3 separate regions of the Homo sapiens genome follow, and regions 2 and 3 are each linked to region 1. The links are contacts of gene promoters, found by promoter capture Hi-C in blood cells and fetal thymus (Javierre and others, 2016). All regions are on one chromosome and are shown on one strand. Each heading gives the region's core, a stretch centred on a gene start or on the middle of the fragment in contact. The rest is flanking DNA. Distances are from core to core; before and after follow the strand shown.

Region 1 (4,296 bases), core at 1,185-3,684:
AGAAAAAACTGAGGAAAATAAACCTGAGTAATATTTACCCAAGTCTCTTGTTTTTGAATTGCTTCTGTCATGGAGCAAGGAAGCACAGATTTTGATCACAAGAGATTTTGATTTTTCTAAATATCCTTGAATCTATCTAGAGAAATATGCTAAAGGTACAGTTCAGGAACAAAAAAAAAAAAAAACAAAAAAACAAAAAACCAACACCCAATGGTCCCAATTCAATACTGCTTTTTAAAATTAAGCCTTCTTATCACACAACAAGTTATTTTTGTTATATGTTTTATCATTCTAACTCATATTCCCAAACTTTTCAGGATTTTACTTATCTATCAAAAAATCCCAATTATATTCCTGTTCTTTCCAATCCCCCTAAAAAAAAAAAAGCAGTATGTCTCATTCTCTTCTCTGCTGATAGGAGTGTAAAATGGATCACTCTATGAAGGGCAACTGTAAATATCTATCATATTTGCAAACACATTTCCTCTTGGATCCAGCAATTCTTTTCAGAATCTGACAGTTACCCCTGCAAATGTAGAAATGACATGTATTCACTGAAGAGTTGTTTCTAATATCTGAAGACTGGAAACAACGCCAAGTGTCCACCTACGCGTGATTTACTGTATAAACTGGAGTATATCTACAAAATGGAGTATGTGACAGGAAAAAATAAGTTTAATTGAATACTGATAAGGAGGAATATCCAGAATATACAGTAAAACAGGAAAAAAAAAAACATGAACAATGCAGAAAATATTGAAGGAGAGACCGAGTGAAATAAGACTGTATATTCTCATCTGCTTGTATCTCTGCATGAAGACCGGAAGGATAAACAAGAAACTAATTTAAAATGATTACCCGTGAAGACTATTAGGAATGGTACTGGATAGGGACTAGGGAGGAAGTGTTTCTTGCTGCATTTCTTTTCATGTAGTTTGAGCCATGTAAAAGAAATATTTGCTAATCAAAAAACAGCTTTAAAAATCCAGTGGGAGAGGCTGGGTGCAGTGGCTCACCCCTGTAATCCCAGCACTTTGGGAGGCCCAAGTGGGTGGATCACCTGAGGTCAGGAGTTCGAGACCAGCCTGGCCAAAATGGTGAAACCCCGTCTTTGTATTTTTGAAAAATACAAAAATTAGCCTGGCATGGTGGCGGTCGCCTGTAATCCCAGCTACTCGGGAGGTTGTGGCAGGGGAATCGCTTGAACCAGGAGGCTGAGGTTGCAGTGAGCCGAGGCTGCGCCACTGCACTCCAGCCTGGGCGAGAGAGTGAGACTCCGTCTCAAAAATTAAAAAAAAAAATCCAGTTGGAGAATCAAAAATTTTTAAAAATTTGACTGTGTAATCCTACAAGAAGTAAGTAGCTTGAGAAAGAGAAATGCTGATAAAGTCGCATTAAGTTTCAGAGTTGAAATTCAAGCTCCTGTATCTAACATGTTTCCCTGTTTAAGGTAGAATTTAAAAAAAAACTATATATGACATATATATGTCAACCCAAAAAAATAAAGCAGTATATATTATATATATAAGAATATATATATATTCTCCTTTATATGTTTTTTGTTTCACATATATATATAAATATATATCTCAACCACAAAAAAATTTGGTTTGTGACAAAGATGCACTTATTTGCACGAACCTATCTTGTTAATGATCAAGAAATCTGCTTTGTTACAATCATTAGAGGACAGAAATATACATACATATTTAAATCTATTTAATGAAATGCAGTTTTATGTTAAAAATCAATGATCTGCTAACCTAAAGAGTCGCACAGGAATACTATGATTATTAAACACAATGCGATTCTCTAAATAAGTAAACACGTGCAATGATATCAAAGTTCAAAATTCTCTAATTCTTCCACAAAGACTATGAAAATCACCTTGGAGTGTATGAACCAGCGTCCTGGCCCCGCCAGGTCGGGGCTGGGGCGGGCGCGGGCCGGGAGCGCTTACCCCGCGGCAGGAGCGATTCAGCGCCACTACCTGCTTCGCCTGGTTGTGGTGTGGCTGCTGCGCCAACCGAAAGGCCTCCTTAATCCGCAGCAGTCTCTTTTCGCTCCCATGGCTCTGGGACTCTGTCCGGACTAGCCCTGTCCGCGCTCGGCTACATCCGGCCCGCCCACCAGCTCAGAGGCAGAGTTCTCCGCGGTGTCTCCTAGGGTTTCTTGTCAGAGGGCCCCAGGCGCCTAGGGAGTCGTTACCGCCCTGGCATTCAAATAACTCCCGCGAGAGGCGGAAATCCCGCGAGACTGCCGACAGAGCGTAGGGAAGTGGAAAAGTGGAGCCTGCACCGCCCGCTCCCGGCACCCCCGGACACCGCCCCGGTCTCACGCATGCGCAGAGGGCCGATCCAGTTCTTTTCGGCTGGAATGGGGAATTTGTGAGGTAGGCCGGAAGTGGTGTTGCGGAGGGAAGTGTGGGGAGAGCAGAGGCGCAGCTCTGCTGGAGAGACCTGAGGCTTGCAGCGCTGGGCCCGGCCGGGTCGCTGCGGCTGGGCTGGAGGTGAGGCGAAAGAAGGGCATCCTCTGATGGGAGTGGACCGGAGTCCGCTAAAGCGAAGCATTCCAGGGTTCGTTGCGGGAAATACAGTCTGGTTTTGCCCCCCGTATGAATTGAGGGAAGGTGAGAGCAGAAGCAATCCGGGCCTGAAGGGCGATTATTCTAGGGTCGGCCGAGGGGTTCAGGCCAAAGTTCATTGAAATCCTAGCTGGGTCCCTGGAGGACGAGAAAACCGGTCAGGAGTCTCCTGGGAAGAGGGTCATGTTTTAATCTAGCTAAAGCTGGTACCTGGCAGTTTCCACTCTTAAGGCCTAGTGTACTAACTAATGTGTGCGCAATGTCAAAACAGGAAACAAAGGGAAATGCAAGAGGTGGAAGGTAATTTTAAGTTAGTGGCAGTATGACAGATTTCCAGTGCCTTCAGGAAGGTATCCAGCCTTAAAGATGCTTTTTTTAAATAGACGATTTTAGACAGAAAAAAGGTAGAAACAAAACTATAACACATGTGTACTCACCACTGAATTGGAGAAATAAATGATTATATAAGTGATTGAAGTCCTTTGTCAGCTCTACCCCGTCTCATTCTCTTTCCTTTTGCCTAAGGAAACCACTCTCCTAACCACCTTTATGCAATCTGTAATGTGTACATCTTTTTGCAGCTAGCTTGTTTTACATAATGTTTTTGAGATTTGTCAGTGTTGTGTAACTCCACCTTATTCATCTTAATAGCTGAACAGATATTCTGTTATTTTAATATGTCACTGTTCATTGTTTAGTATCTCCAGTGCCTGACATACTTTAGGCACTGTAGGTAGCTAAATGTTAGTTGAATGCATGGCTGCTGTAGCATTTGAACTAAGTAGAAAAGAATAAATAGGACTTCATGTGACCCAACAAGAGTATTCCAGGCAAAAGGAATACTAGCCAAAAGCAGAGACATGAAAGTGCATGAACTATTTCAAGAATTTCCATACTTTTAGTACTGAAATGTAGAATGTATGGAGATCATGTGATGAAGGAGAAACCTGGAAAGATGAGGCTTAAGCTTAAAGGATATTATCCTGAAGAGCTTACACAAGCTCGGCGCCATTAAATGCTTTTCCAGTTATGAGGAAGCTGATTAGAGCTGTATTTTCAGAAGATGATACAGCGCACTAGAGATATATCTTAGGATATAAAAGATTAGTGACGGGGAATTTTAGACTATCAAGCATTGTAACAATAACAATCATTGCATTAAGCAAGTAAGACAACCAGCCAGACTAAAAATCCAAAAACATTTTCCTAGTCCATCATATTATCACATTCCTTAACAATTATTAATATTTCATATTTTCTTCTGACAAACTTGCAACATTTTCTACTTCGGCCTCTTACTTAGATGATACCTCACATCCTATTGAGTTAAAAAAAAACTTCCCCATGCTTTCATCACCACATCTACCAGACCTGTTCCCTAATATACTGCCACTGCTGTTACTATAGATGAACTGTCTGATTTAGGAGGGAGAGTAAACCCTTTAAAAATATCTTTTTAATACAATAGTAACTGAACTAGTGTTACAAACTTTCAAGGGGGGATTGAAACGTGAATAGTAAGAATATGAAAGAATGGAATAGTTAAAAGACAATTGCTTCTAAGAGATAAATGATCCATATATAGTAATATAAAAATAAGATACTTTTTTAATGTATATTTCTTTTTTTCAGGTAGATTTAGGTTCTAAGCTTTAAAAGCTAAATCTAAATTTACATGTATGTTTTTATAGGATCATTGTTTCTACTATTTC
Region 2 (4,296 bases), core at 795-3,294, 5.6 Mb before region 1:
CAGGCCTGACCGTGCTTAGCTTCCAAGATCAGAGGCGATCCGGCGCTTTCAGGGTGCTATGACCGTAGACAGAAACGAACTAAGACTCAGTTTCCTCATCAAGAAGGAGCAGACAAGGACCTGGGTGAATCTGAGGCCGGCTTCCGGGGCTCCGAGGTGTGGCTCCCGGTAGAGGGGGCGTGGCGCCCTCACCCTCCCCGGGCCAATGGGCAGGAGGTGAGAAGTGGAGAGGAAGGCGAATTATCCCATCCCAAGGTGGCTCCGGAGCAGAACCGCGCCCGGGGTAGGGGGTACTCACGTCGATGTTCCTTAGGATGACGCACTTTCCATTGGTGTACAGAAAATTGTTGCCCTTAGGGTCGCCGCCGATGATCTTGGAGACGCCCCTCTCCACCTGCGGGAGGCTGGCGAACACCTTCTCTGCGGAGACACAAATGCGGCGGGGCATGTCAGGGCAGGGCGGGGACGGCGGGGACAGAAGGGAGAAGGAGCCCCGGACCGGTCTCGGCCGGTCACCTGTTGACTGCGCCGGGAGGGCGGCCTCCACTTTCCACGAGCGCCAGGAACCGCGCGACTTCCTGGTCCGCGCCCCGGGCCAGGCCCTTGGGGGCAGCGGGGCTCCTCCGGCTCGGCCCACGGCGCCAACTTGGGGGCGCACCCCCCGTCGGGGGTCCCGCCCTGCACCACCGAGGGCGGCCCCGCCACGCCTCCGGCCGGCGCCCGCACCCCTCCCCCGCGCCGAGGACTCCCCCGCCACCCGCACGGCGCCTAGGGGCCGGGGACCGGGGCCGGGGCAGCGCGGCGGCCGCTCGGGGGCCCCGCGCCGCGGCACTTACTGATCTCGTACGGCATCCTCGCCCACTTGTTACCGCGCCGCGCTCGCCGAGAGCCTCCGGGGCCGGCCCGCGCTGCGAATTACACCTCGCCGAGGCCGAGCCCGGGGACTGGAGCCGGAAGGCGGCACCGGGCGTGCCGGGAGTGGAGTGGGCGGTCCGAGGCCGGGGCTCAGAGGCCAGCTCGCGCCTGCCCTGCGCGCTGTGGTTGCGGACGCCCCGAACCCGGAAGCGCGGTCCCGCGCGCGGCTCGCCCCCAGCTTTGACCATATATAGTCAAGCGCTCGGCTCGGCGGCTGCGGTCCCGGCGAGCCTGCGCGGACCTGGCGCTCCCCTCCCCCGCCGGCCCCGGCCCCGCCTCCGCCTTGCTCGCCCCGCCCCGGAAGTGACGTATAGCACGCCCCGCGGGCCCTTGAAAAGGCGGCGCAGACAAGCAGCCGCGTCAGAATGCTTCTGGGAGTCGGGGGGTGGGTGCCTTTCTGTTGCTAGCTTGTAGGAGAAGCTGGGCTGTAGGAAGTTTATTTGCGGGGGGGTCTTAAAGACGCTGAAAGTACTGGCGGGCTTTGGTGGGGGTCTGGAAAAACCTCTCTGTACCTGTGACCGCGTTGCGTGGCGGGCGCTCCCCGGCCTCTCCTTTTTGACCGGTCCCGGGCGTTGCCCAGCCGCCAGTCCTCCTGCTCGGGTTTTGTAAGCAGGAGAGGGATGCTTTTTACGTCTTCTTAAAGTACGGTTAAGTGCCCTTGCTTGAAGTAGTTGCTGGCAACAAGAACGTAGGGGTTACTCTTTGTTGGGCCTGAACTCGTGCTTTTTCTCTCAAAAGTTGAGCTTTTGAAAGGCAAAAAAGGCGTGGGGGATGGGGGAGCTGTCGGTCTTAAGGAAGTTAAAGGTTATTTCCTAAACAAAACAAGTCTCACTCCTAAAACCAGGGTAGTGGCTCAGTTGTGGCGGGAGAGCAGGGGCTGTAAAGTGTCCAAGTTTCTAGTCTCATCTTTCAGTAGGATGGGTACAAGCTTTCCCCTTGGGGCTCTGGGGGCTGGGAGGGTTGTAAAAGTGGGAGAAAGCAAAGTATTTGGCGGGGTGCGGGCGGGTAGCTGAATGTTGTTGTAAGTGGAAGAGGAATGCTGTTGGCGTCTTTCTCTAAGCACGGTTAAGTGCTTTTTCTTGAAGTAGTTACTGGCAACAAGAACGTAAGGGTTACTCTTTGTTAGGCCTGAACTCGTGCTTTTTCTCAAAAGTTTAGCTTTTGAAAGGCAAAAGTGGGGGTGGGGGCGCTGCTGCTTTTAAGGAAGTTAAAGGTTATTTCCTAAGAAAGCAAAACAAGCCCCACTTGTAAAACCCGGGTAGTGGCTCAGCTGGAGAGCAGGCGCTGTGAAGTGTACAAGTTTCTAGTCTCATCTTTCAGTAGAATGGGTACAAGCTTTCCCTCGGGGCTCTGGGGGTGGGAGGGTTGTAAAAGTGGGAGAAAGCAAAGTACGTGGGTGGGGGGTAGCTAAATGTTGTTGTAAGCGGGAGATGGATGCTTTTGGCGTCTTTAAGCACGGTTAACTGCCCTTGAAGTAGTTGCTGGCAACAACGTAGGGGTTACTCTGCTGGGCCTGAACTTGTGCTGTTTCTCTCTCTCAAAAGTTAAGGTTTTTAAAAGGCAAAGGCGTGGGGAGAGGGGTAGGGGAGCTGCTACTTCTAAGGACGTTAAGGGTTACTTCAGAGCAAAACAAGCCCCACTTCTAAAACCAGGGCAGTGGCTCAATTGTGGAAGGGAGAGCAGGGAATGTGAAGTGTCCAAGCTTCTAGTCTCGTCTTTCAGTAGCGTGGGTACAAGTTTTCCATTGGGGCTCTGGGGGCTAGGAGGGTGGTAAAAGTGGGAGAAACCAAAGTACTTGCGGGTAGCTAAAAACTCTGAAACCCACGCTGTGAGCGGTTCCTGCTTCTCTGAAAGGTCTGTTCTGCTTAAGGTTGTATCAAGGTTAGTCTCTTGCTACCTACTTCTGTAGAGCAGTCTCTCGTGGCTCACCTGGGTTAGTGGCCATGTTGCCTGTCTCCTATTCTTCCTAACCTTGTGTGTTCTCCAGGTAGCTGAGTGATCCATCCGAAGTAAAATATTCCTCAGCTTGTCTGTAGGGGCTCCAAGTTTCATGAAGTAAAAGCTAGTCTTGAAAACGGCCCATTAGGGTCCTGGATGACAGTCTCCGGGTCACTTAGACTCCGTTGTCCGCCTCCCCTCATCTGTATCATCTTTGCCTTGGGTACTGGCTTCGGAGGGTGTTTTCCTGAAACTCTTACCTGAGATCTACTTGGCTGACTCCTGTGTCCTTCAGAAGTACTTAATTGCTCAAATGTTAGTTGATGAGTGTCACCGGTCTCATTTTAAATTGCAACTTCAACCCCTTGCAAACACTGCTTCTCATTCCCGCGTTCCCTAACTTTAACTCTCAGGAATAACCCTGACACCTGGAAGATGCTCCTAGGGATGACCCCACTCCCCACCCACAACTGTTAATCAGGAAATAACGGATATGAAAGTAGCTCTGCGAACTGAGGAGCCGTGGAGAATGTACAAAACAGATTCCTAAAGTAAGATACGCAGGCCCGGCTTGTAGGCCGCTGCATCTGCTTTGATAACTTAGAACTCATCAAATCACCTTGAGACCCTTAAAACAAATGGTATAATTGCATTCACAGGTAGTGCATTCGTGTAACAAGATTAAGAAAACGAAGGACCAACTTCAAGCTCTTGCAAGCTGGTAACCTTTACACTCGTGCATAAAGCCTTGCTGGAGTTGACACTGAAAACTAAACAGTCGAACTTGAGTAAAACATATCCAAACTCCCAGCTGCTGGGCTCTACAGCTTATTTTTAGCTTGAAAGTTACATGTTGGAGCTGCAGAGGCTTTATGGTGGTGGTGGGGGAGCTGTTTGTTCGTAGTCACTTGAGTCTATATGAACGTGGCAGGAAATCTGAAGGATGTGAAAGGAAAATGGGAAACACCAGGGTGTTCCAGGATTTTCCCTGTGGGGCGCGAGCTCAGTTTGGTGTTGTCAGCTGTGGGAGCTTTAACACTTGAACCGTCTTTACTGTGGGTCTAGCCTATTCGTTGGGCTCCCCTAGTCACCACTCATGCCTTCGTGTATCCTGTTGTGTTGGGCCCCCACTGAATTAAATAGGGATGGCACCATGTTCGAGAAGCCGAGGCGACCCAGAGCCAATGAACACATATGGTGTATGGAGGGGACTTGAATACAGAGTGGTCCAGAGCAGCCAGCTGGGACAGAACTGCGCTTCAAAAAGCAGTTGATACAGATCAGGTACACCTACACTCCCAAGGTGTGGCTAAGCCGCTATCAGGTGTCAAGCGTGTAAGGGTCACTGCCAGGATATACTTGAGTTGCTTTCAGCTGTCATAACTCTCTAATAGGATGGGGATCCTGAGGTCTGCATACACCAGTGGTTCACATCTCTGAGGA
Region 3 (4,296 bases), core at 453-2,952, 5.0 Mb after region 1:
GCTGACTGAGAATTGTTTTAGTTCAGTGGTCTTAAAGCTGAGTACGGGAGAAAGTACATACAGGGAAAGAAATAGGCTATATCAGCTGCCCAAACAATGATAGAAAGTACACTTTCCTACCATTGACACAGATACCGGCAGTCCCTTGTAGATAGATGACCTGTAGCAACCAAGGAAGCTTTAAGGGGAATGTGTGGGCTTCATAGGGTGGTTTGTTTGCTTTCTGATATTGTGACATAGTTTAGGTGTTCGAAGTTAAGTGGATTTATGGATTCTAATATCTATAATTAGAATGTTTATCTTGTTTTGTAAAAGAATGAGCGGTGACCTTGATAATATTTGTAACACAAAATAGTTCTTACAGGTTCGCTTCTCCCCATCACTGCCCCTTTACACCATCCTCTACATGTTATTTAATGAAAAACCACTTGAAAGGGTTACCAAGGATAAGATTTTTAAAGCTTGCTTTCACAAACAACTCATGCTCCAGGCTTGTCAGTGGCATGCTTCCAGGTGGATATTATTTTAAAAAATTGACTACATTTCCCGTCGTCCCTTGGTGTCCGTGGAGAATTGGCTCCAGGACTCCCTCCCTCCCCCCAGTCTCTTTCAGATACCCAAATCCACCCATGCCAAAGTCCTCCAGTCTGCTCTCCGTATCCGTGGTTGGGTCAAATCTATAGATGTGGAACCCGCATATACGGAGAGCCAACTGTAATTTGTCGTTAAGGTAAAGGATAAAAATTTTAAGTGAAAAAGCAATTGTTTTGGAAGGAAATTCTCTAATACAGGATTTTGAAAGGGGATGTAGACGTGTTTGCATTACTGTATGTTTAATGCTGAAAATTATATATTGTACATAAAAGTTGTCCTGTATACTCATAAACTGTAGAAGCTCGATTTTCTACCATGTTTAAAACTTTTTCAAATGAGTTTTGGTGACTTTTTGAACTCATTCAAAATATAATGCAACACCTCCCCATTAGTTTGTTACAGGAACAACTTTTTGACGTGAAGGAAGATAGAAATTTAGCCATAAAATTCCATCCAAAACTTCCACTGAATTGGTAGGTAGTATTGAAAAATGTGCATCATAATTTGATATGGCTGCCTGTGCCCTTGTTATGTTTGTGGGTACGCGTCTTTGCTGTGCATCGCTTTTATCTGTTGCAGCTGTTAACAATTGATGATCAAGAGAAATTGGACCTCAGCTGGTCTTCAAATTGATGTAGCCCAAGATGTTAAGCCAGATTTTTTAAAAATGACAAAACATGTGGTTTCACTATTAGTAATAGTAATACTGAAGAACACTTTGTACCATTGTAAAGAAAATTATAATAATAGCTAAGACTCATGTGGCCCTTACTGCATGCCTCCCATTATGGAAATGTTGTTTTACATATATTCTTACTAGTCTTCATCAACACTTAAAGTAGTTCCTGTAATTATGCCCAATTATAGAGTTGAGGAAACTGATGCATTTTTTTTTTCAATAGAAACTTGTGTTGTTCCCCCTCCAGGAGCTTCTCAAAACAGAAGTCAGGCACAATATTAAATACTTGTTGAATGATCACAGAAGTACAATAGTAGGTTAACATATTTAAAGCTTCTCTCAGCTTATTTTAGACTATTATCTGACAACTTTAATGAGATTTTAATTACCGTAGTATTAGAAAATGGCCCTGGGAATGGAGGTGAAGTGTGATACTGGGAAGTAAGTCATCTGCTGGTAGTGGGATGAGATAAATGAGATCAATGTACTAAATCAAGGAAATTGAAATTATTCAGTGTGCAGAAGCAAGCTTACATTTAGGTTATCTTTACATGGTATCAGACTTTAAGCTGGTACATCATGTTTGAGATATCTGGCTAAATTTTATAACATGGAGCTTTGTCCTCCTTTTGAGGATTTCTAACTTGTTAAGTGGATTAAAAGCATTTCATGTGAGGAATCATTTTAAAAAGTATCAGTGTTTATCCTGAAGAAGAAAAAATGAAGGAGTTAAGAGTTAATGCCATCAAATATTTGAAAAAGTGTCATTTGGAGGTGGAAGAGGACTTTACCTGTGTTGTCCTAAGGGAAGATCTTACACTATACTTGAGAGGCAGTCATTATTAAAGGCATTAAAATGAGACGTGTGCTAATAGAATAACTAGATTGTCGTGGAAGTGAGGGAACAGAGTAATCAAGTAGAAATAAGGACACAGGATAGAAATCAATGCCATAGAAATACACATTTGAGAAACCAAGATGAGGAAAGGCTTCATGGAAGTTGGGAATGAAGCTTGGCCTAAAAATACCAGTAGGCACTTGGGTATATGAGTGTGTGTGTGTGTGTGTGTGTGTGTGTGTGTGTTTGTGTGTGTGTATTTCTTGCTAGAGATACAATTGTAGAAATTGATTGGATTAGCTGGAAACCTTGGGGTATGAACTAGAGTCCTCCATTAGCAGAAAAAAAGCAACTGTGTAAGGGAAAAGTGAACCAGTATTCCCTGGGTGAGTAACTTGAGAGATAATTTCATTTGCACCTCCAGAAAACCTTGACAGGCTTTTATTTCCCTCTTTAAACAGGTCAGGAAGTCGAGGTTTAGGGAGGTTAAATAATCTGCCTAAATTCATAAATTTCATAATTGGTAGAACTGAGATGCAGACCCATATTTGAGCCCAAAGCTCTTTCTTTCTCATCACGTGTAGCATTGAGTGTAGGAAATGAAGGAAAAGGAGACAATGGTGATTCTAAGTTTTTCAGTCTGAGGACCAGAAAACTGGTGGTACCCTGGGTTAACAAGGGGTTCATAATAACTTCAGTGTGACAACCTCAGTTTTAGTTACATTCAGTTTAAGGAGCTTGTGATACATTGGGTAGGAGAGTTCATTATGTCACTGGAAAAGTAGAGCTTGATGTGCACATGTTAACATTTGGAGCTTTGGAAATACAGAGGCCAGAGAAGATGGAGAAGATGACAGGGAATGTACCAACCACTCCTTTCAGAAATCTAGTCTGTGTTTTCTAATGTGGTCAGAGAATTGGAAGTGAGTTTCTAACAGTTTATTTTGACAATTTGAATGGAAAAAAAGTTGACTTTTGTACATCATTTCTTGGAGATGATTATTTTGCTGTTATTGATACTATTGAAGTTGACATAATTTCATGTTTTCTCATTAGTCTTTTCCAGTATTTTGCTCCATATCAACTTTTTTGTGTGTCTTTTACTGTATTGTATACTCTGTTCTGGTTTTGTCTTTTTATTGATAACAAATGCCCCTCCAAACAAATTTTGAAATCAACTTTTTTTTTTTTAAACTGCAGGAGTGAAAGGGAAGCAATGCAGAAATCAGAGGGCTCTGGAGGTACACAGTTGAAAAACAGAGCAACAGGTACAGAGCTTTTGTTTTTAAGTGAAGAGGTCAAGTTTGTTCATGGCACTTTCTGTGCTACAGATGGATGCAGGGTGAACTTTATTGCTTGTACCTGGTTTCTATTGATGTTCTGTTTTTTTCCAGGTAACTATGATCAAAGGACATCATCAAGCACACAGTTAAAACACAGGAATGCAGTTCAGGGAAGCAAATCCTCATTGTCAACCAGTTCTCCAGAGTCTGCAAGAAAACTTCATCCTAGACCAAGTGATAAACTGAACCCTAAAACAATTAATCCGGTAGGTCCAAAACTATTCCTAACTCAGTAGATTTTTTAAAGGCATTTCGCACAGTATTGAACAATGCTGGATGCTGTGTTGAGTTTTGTCCCTTTGCTAGTTTTGAGCTAATAATGAGAGAAGGGCATGTGGTTATTATGATGAAGAACTGAGATAATCAGTCACATGTGGGAGTGAGTATGGAGGTAAGGAGACATAGAAGTTAACCTGTTTGGGATATCGCATTGTAGTGCATAGAAAATTGCACTTTAGCTTTAGATTTTATTTGCAGTGTTGTTTTACTTCCCCATATCAATGAATAAACTGTATTCAGTTGCCACAGAATGCTTTTCGTGCTTCTATAGTTGCATAAAGGTCTCTGACCTTTCCTGTGTTCTGTAAATTAGTTCCACCAGAAATCCTAGTTGTAGTACTAACCTCCTTTGCCCTCTCCTAACAATTTAATGAGATTTAATAAACATGGGATTTATGCAGTAAAAATATTCAGAAGTGAACACACCTGTGCAACAACACCAGGTGTTATTTGCCCCATGCCCAACTTTGGTAGGGTGAGATGTTAGTGATTTCAGCCTTCGAAGGGGATTGTGAGGGTGGCTGAAGCTCCTGACTGACTGTGGTGGTAGGTAGGGGTATGGC

What was found. Contacts are between HindIII fragments. The CHiCAGO score rates a contact against its expected background, and 5 or more counts as called.
Region 2: a fragment that was not itself captured here is called in contact with the fragment with the promoter of FAM200B in region 1 in 1 of 17 cell types (naive CD8 T cells); the score reaches 6.7 in naive CD8 T cells.
Region 3: a fragment that was not itself captured here is called in contact with the fragment with the promoter of FAM200B in region 1 in 1 of 17 cell types (naive CD8 T cells); the score reaches 5.7 in naive CD8 T cells.

What each region holds. Positions count from the first base shown.
Region 1 is chr4:15,679,393-15,683,688 of GRCh38, forward strand. It overlaps FAM200B (family with sequence similarity 200 member B), which reads left to right and starts at 2,435. Exons shown (of 2, transcript NM_001145191.2): 1 at 2,435-2,509. It also overlaps a transcript of FBXL5 not described here. RefSeq lists enhancers at 1,935-2,234, 2,405-2,644, 2,655-2,704. The HindIII fragment of the contact is 4,207 bases long and covers 1-3,549 here.
Region 2 is chr4:10,115,815-10,120,110 of GRCh38, forward strand. WDR1 (WD repeat domain 1) reads right to left here and starts at 985. Exons shown (of 15, transcript NM_017491.5): 1 at 837-985; 2 at 299-420. The coding sequence starts at 852. LOC124900666 (a long non-coding RNA gene) reads left to right here and starts at 1,275. Exons shown (of 2, transcript XR_007058030.1): 1 at 1,275-3,404; 2 at 3,513-3,663. It also overlaps the pseudogene RNA5SP155. RefSeq lists enhancers at 1-646, 297-446, 2,217-2,316, 2,397-2,486 and silencers at 527-676, 757-1,166, 1,177-1,296. The HindIII fragment of the contact is 407 bases long and covers 1,842-2,248 here.
Region 3 is chr4:20,701,155-20,705,450 of GRCh38, forward strand. It overlaps PACRGL (parkin coregulated like), which reads left to right. Exons shown (of 9, transcript NM_001258345.3): 2 at 3,312-3,379; 3 at 3,506-3,660. The coding sequence starts at 3,328. Among named protein-coding and RNA genes, the nearest start is that of PACRGL, 2.8 kb to the left of the region's middle. The HindIII fragment of the contact is 196 bases long and covers 1,605-1,800 here.